2 separate regions of the Homo sapiens genome follow, and region 2 is linked to region 1. Evidence: promoter capture Hi-C in 16 types of primary human blood cells and fetal thymus (Javierre and others, 2016). All regions are on one chromosome and are shown on one strand. The core of a region is centred on a gene start or on the middle of the fragment in contact, and the rest is flanking DNA. Distances in the headings are between cores, read along the strand shown. Region 1 holds the start of MORN1 (MORN repeat containing 1). Region 2 overlaps PRDM16 (PR/SET domain 16).

The links. The method cuts DNA at HindIII sites, captures the fragments that hold promoters and counts their contacts. A CHiCAGO score of 5 or more calls a contact.
Region 2: a contact is called between a fragment that was not itself captured here and the fragment with the promoter of MORN1 in region 1, in 2 of 17 cell types (endothelial precursors and naive B cells). The highest score is 12.4, in endothelial precursors.

The regions. Positions count from the first base shown.
Region 1 is chr1:2,390,210-2,392,909 of GRCh38, reverse strand. It overlaps MORN1 (MORN repeat containing 1), which reads left to right and starts at 1,356. Exons shown (of 14, transcript NM_024848.3): 1 at 1,356-1,452. The coding sequence starts at 1,377. RER1 (retention in endoplasmic reticulum sorting receptor 1) reads right to left here and starts at 1,069. Exons shown (of 7, transcript NM_007033.5): 1 at 952-1,069. RefSeq lists silencers at 784-1,083, 1,184-1,293, 1,424-1,493, 1,654-1,783 and enhancers at 325-1,197, 1,066-1,360. The HindIII fragment of the contact is 4,806 bases long and covers 1-2,700 here.
Region 2 is chr1:3,421,125-3,424,022 of GRCh38, reverse strand. The region is part of intron 12 of PRDM16 (PR/SET domain 16); the gene reads right to left. Among named protein-coding and RNA genes, the nearest start is that of ARHGEF16, 32 kb to the left of the region's middle. RefSeq lists an enhancer at 2,859-2,898. The HindIII fragment of the contact is 1,664 bases long and covers 648-2,311 here.

The DNA.
Region 1 (2,700 bases), core at 107-2,606:
AAATGCCCTCCCAGACCCCGTCTCTTCCTCCTTCCCAAGGCCACATTCCAGCCTGGGCTCCCCGCTCCTCTGGGCCTGACCATCTTATATCTCCACCTGGCTCTGACACACTGTTACCGCCGTCGCCGTCACCTCAGGCATACGGCAGAAGCCATGTGAGAGTCTGAATTACTGAGAACCCTTTATCCACTTACGGGGATAACTGCATCTTCCTGGGAAATGTCAACTCAACTAAAAATAAAGTGCTTCCAGGACTAGCGGCCAGTCTCTACTCTTCATAAAGGGAAAAGGGCAAAAGCCCACTGAAGGTACTTAGGCTGAAAGCAGCCCTCTGTGCTGTGAGACACCTGGCAGAGAAACGAACGATACCTTTATCAGTGGGGCCACAGACCAGTACTAAGTCAGCCTGGAGAATTTATGATTTTATTGCCTATTTAGAATACGATCAAAACCGATGTAACTAGTTTCCCTTCAGCCCGTCAGTAACGCCTTCACCCCAGAGCTTAACACTAAATCCTACAGATAAGCGCTGACCTGGACGCAGGATGGGGACAGGGCACATTACTCTGGAATACAGCCCAACTCGCAGCGCTGTGGGGGCCGCGACTGCCCGCTTCCCCCAGATGCCAAGCAGGGGATGCGGACGAGATGCGGCCCGGGTGGCTCGAGGGCTGCAGCCCCCGCCCGGCCCCTCTCCCGCTCCCCCGACCCTCGCAGGCCCCAGGGCTCCGCCGCACCCCCCAGCACCCCGTCCCGGGCCCGACCCCGAGGCGCGACCCGTACCCCTCAGGGCCGCGGGTCGGGAACACGGTCCCCGCGGCCACCCGGGCCCCGACGGCCCTCCCCGCCCGGCCCTCAGCGCGGCCCCGCCCGCCCGCGGCCTTGACAGCCCGGAAGAAGCGGAGGCGGCGCTGCCCGGCCGTTCCCGCGCCACGCAGCCCTTCCTGGCACCTCGCAGCTCCGCTACGGCCGAGCCGCGGTCTCCCTCACGGCCGCGGGAAGGAGGACGGCGGGGCACGGGCGGCCGCAGGCGCTGCGCTCCGGCTCCGGGAAGCTGCAGCGAGCACTTCCGCTCCGTCCTCCGCGGCGCCGCCTCCAGGGCCCCCAAGATGGCGCGAGGGCGGGGCCAAGGGCTCCAACCATTTCCGCTTCCGGCGCAGACGCGCAGGCCGTTGGCGGGCGGGCCTCCCGGCGGAAGAGACGACAGCGGCGGAAACGCGCACAGGCGCAGCTGCGTCCTCTGGCTCCGGGCCCGGCTAGCTTCGCTCCAGAGATTGCGCGGGCTCAGGGACTAGGCCCGTGGCCACACCCCCCCTTGCGACAAAGACCAATGGAAGCGGGCGTTGCTGGTCGCTAAGAGAACCCTCGGCGGCAAGATGGCAGCGGCGGGCGAGGGCACCCCGAGCTCCCGCGGGCCGCGTCGGGACCCGCCTAGGCGGCCGCCCCGGAACGGTAACGACTGCGGGCCACGGGACAGGTCGCTGGCTGCCCTGGGCTCCATTCAGGGTGCGATCGCTCTACGCCCTCGACCCCCAAATGCTCACCTCGGAAAGTAGAGGTCCAGGTGCCGCGGCGGAGCCAGGGCCGCCCCCGCGTCCCCCACTCCCACAGGACTCGCCGTGCGCCTCGGGCTCGGCTCGCACCCTTCCCCGAGCCCTCCTCCCGCAGCAGGCCAAGCCCTGCAGGGGGTCGCCCCCCGCGGGCTCCTAGCCGGGAAGACCGGGTTCCGGCCGCAGCCTCACAGCCAGCGGGACCTGGGGTTGCCATGGGGATCCCGAAGCCCAGGACTTGGGGCGAGGGCAGGCGCAGGAGCAGCACCAAGCCTCCTGACTTCCTGGCCGGTGCTGTCCAGAAACGCTAGGACGCGTTTCAAAAGCAGTTTTTGCCTGTACTTCCAGCACTTTGGGAGGCCGAGGCGGGTGGATCACCTGAGGTCAGGAGTTCGAGACCAGTGTGGCCAACATGGCGAAACCCGGTCTCTACTAAAAAATACAAAAATTGGCCCGGGGTGGTGCCTCCTGTAGTTCCAGCTACTCGGGAGGCTGAGGCAGGAGAATCGCTTGAACCCAGGAAGCGGAGGTTGCAGAGAGCCGAGATCGCGCCGCTGCACCCCAGCCTGGGCGACAGAGCAAGACTCAGTCTCAAAAAAAAAAAAAAGAGCAGGTTTTGATAGGAACTGTTTCTAGAATCAAATAAACGGGTCTGGAATGAACTCAGAGCTAACACTACTATCTTCAGGTAGAACCTGACCCTGATTTGGGACAGATACAGTAGCCTGTAGTAACCCCCTGCCCTCCTCCCCGACATTTTCCCATAAACCCTGCCCACAAAATGTGCCTGAGGAGCTGGTAGGGAGGGAGCCCTGCCCATTCCTGGAACTGCAGGAGTTGGCGGGTGGCACACCCAGCAACTAGGAGGAGATGAAGCCGGCCAGGCCATCCTTGGGTATGAGTGTGGATTTTCTCCCCAGCGATAGGAGGCCACTGAAGGGCCACGGCAGGGGATGGGAGAGTCTGCTCCTCCCCTGTGTGCCTCACTGACACTGCCGCTCTGCCTTCCCCTGGCTCACTCATCTCCTGCAACAAGGCTCCCAACCTGCTCCTCACCACCTCCCGAGCACCTCTGGTCTCTCAAGGACCTGCAGTTGTTTCAAGCCAGCCCTCCTCTTACTGGGCCTGTCTTCTCTGCACCAAGTAGGTC
Region 2 (2,898 bases), core at 230-2,729, 1.0 Mb before region 1:
TGGGTGCTTGGCATGTGCGTGTGTGCCATGCCTGTGTGTGCACACTTGTGTGTGCTCTTGGTCATCAGAACGCCCGCAGCGGTGCTCATCTGATCCCACAGGCACACACGCACTTGAACATTCTGTTTATATGATCATGCGTTTTCATATTTTGAAAACAAAGCAAGCTCCATGATGCCCATGGCACAGCACACAGAAAGTCTACCCACTGCAGCAGGATCCTGGCCGGGGGGGCCTGGTAGCAGCTGGAGACCAGGCCAGGGCCTCTGTGGGAGCCTCTGTGGAGGCACCAGGATGGGGCAGGGTTTGTTCACCCGGAGTGGGTGTGGCTGTTCTAAGCACAGTGGCCTTCGTTCCCACAGAGGACAGGACTCCGAGAGGCCCCACCCCGCCCCGACCGGTGCCGGTGGCCCGCTCCAGAGCAGCATACTGGTCACATGCCCTTGTCACATGGATGGGGACGTGCCTGGTGACACTCGGGAGTCCTGGCCTCCCAGACCGGGAGGGGCTGTGTGGCTCGGCCTTCTCGGCACGGTGCTGCCCTGTACAGGAGGGGCCTGGGCTGGTGTTTGCTATCACAAAAGCCTGGCGAGGGAGTCTGACCTGCCATCAACACACCCGCAGGGGCCTCCCCAAGGCAGGAAGCTTCAGTCCCACACCTTCCGGGTGCTGCTGCCGGGCCCAGGAGCTCAGCATTCCCCACGTGCAGGGGCTGCGGCCGTGAGAAACTGTCCTTGGAATCTCAGAGCCTGCGAGTCTCCCCCAACTCCCCAGGCTGCCTGGTAAAACCTAGCAAGTCTGAAAATGGGTCCCCTAGAGAACGGGAGGCAGTCCTGGGAGAAGGGCACTCCTCTCCCACGCCTGGCCGAGGCATATCCCCATCCCACTTCGTCCCAGCAAACTTCCCTGGTGCTGCCCTAAGGCTTCATCCACTCAATTCCTGAACCTTCCAACCTTTGCCGGAGGCCAGGCTCACTCTGGCCTCTTCAACAGTAGACAGGAAAAGAAGCATTGGTGATCGAAGTCCCTGAGCTCCCCGAAGTGACCCTCAGCCTTCTCTGCTCCTGATCCCAGGGGCCTGGCCTGTGGGCTTCTTCTCTGGGAGCCCCTGCTCCTGCCCGGGTCAGCTGAGCTGCCTCCGGGCACCCGGGTCCCAGCGTCTCCTCCCACAGCCCAGTGACAGGCAGCGCCCTGGCTTGGACTGGCCATCCACAAAGCCTGCCCTGGGCGGCGCTGCAGTTTTGTTTGACTCGGCCTGTGAACTCACACAAGAATAAGGCCGAGGATGGAGCCCTTTCGGCAGCAGGGTTGGAGATGCTTGGGTGCCCCCCTACCCGACGTGTCCCACACAATCTCCCAGAAAGGAGGGATTTTACACCCTCCAATGCATTTTCTCACATCCCCCACCCTGACACATCCTTAGACTGGAATGGTGGTGCCTGGCCCTGGGACCGCCATGCTTTTGAGGCTGACTGACTGCTGAGAAAGGACACACTGGACTCTGCGTCTCCAGCCCGGATGCAAAGCACCTGCCAGTCTGAGCATTCAGGCTCTGCCCAGCCAGAGGCTTCCCACCCAGCTGGGGCCATGTGCCCCTCTGGCATGTTGAGGCAGCCCAATCTGTCTGCCTGCCTGACTGTCTGTCTGCCTGCCAGTCTGCCTGCTTGCCAGTCTGTCTATCTGCCTTCCTGCCTGTCCATCTGCTTGTCTGTCTGCCTGTCTGTCTGCCTGCCTGTCTGTCCATCTGTCTGTCCACCTGCCTGTCTGTCTGCCTTCTTGCCTGTCTGCCCTGCCTGTCTGTCTGCCTGTCTGTCCATCTGTCTGTCTGCCTACCTATCTATCTATCTGCCTTCCTGCCTGTCTGCCCTGCCTGTCTGTCTGCCTGTCTGCCTGCCTGTCTGTCCATCTGTCTGTCCACCTGCCTATCTTCCTTCCTGCTTGTCTGCCCTGCCTGTCTGTCTGCCTGTCTGTCCATCCATCTGTCCATCTACCTGTCTGTCTGCCTTCCTGCCTGTTTGCCTGTCTGTCTGTCTGCCTGTCTGTCCGCCTGCCTGTCTGTCTTCCTGTCTGTCCGCCTGCCTGTCTGTCTGCCTGCCTGTCTGTCTTCCTGTCTGTTTGCCTGCCTATCTTCCTGTCTGTCCGCCTGCCTGTGTGTCTGCCTGTCTGTCTGCATGTGTGCTCAAACACGGCTCATTCAGTTCCTGGTTTCTTTGGAAATGCAGAGACTTTTGCAGAAAGTCCACCTAATGGCTCTTGCATAAACCCTAGCAATTGTGGATCCGAGGTAAGAAATGGGATTGGAAAAGAAGCTTGTTCATAAAACTGGAGAGCAAGTCCCTTGTGTGAAGCTCTGGGGCCGGGGAGAGCCACGAACAGGGCTGTGCGTTCAATTTGGTTGCAGAGAGCCCTGAACGTGGCCCTCTCTTGCTTCTAATCTAAATAAATGGCCCAGACAGAGAAGTCCATTTGAAATTTAGGGGAGCCGTGAGCCCAGGGCTGCGAGGGAGCAGAGTTCTCCGAGCAGCTGGGGTCTGCGTTGTAAATAAGCTGACAAGCGGCCAGTGAAATTGATGGTCTCACTGCGTAAAATAACACGCCCGTGAGCTCCAAAAGGAAGGAGAACGTGCAGGGTAGCCTGGCCCTGGTGCAATGCGGAGGGCCTTGAGAGGACCTTGCTGTGACCGTGCCTGCTGCACTCCCAGAGAAGCCATTGGCAGGGGAACAACAGAGTATGGGCAGGTCAGGGGGGGTGGCCAGGGCCCCCGAGCCCCTGAGCACTGGGCAGCGGCATCCTTCCTAGGATCCAGTGAGGTCTCCTGCAGCCACTACAGGGGGATCTGCTTTTGGTGACTGTAAAAGTGAGGGAAGAGGAAGAAAGAAGAGATTTTGAAACCCAGC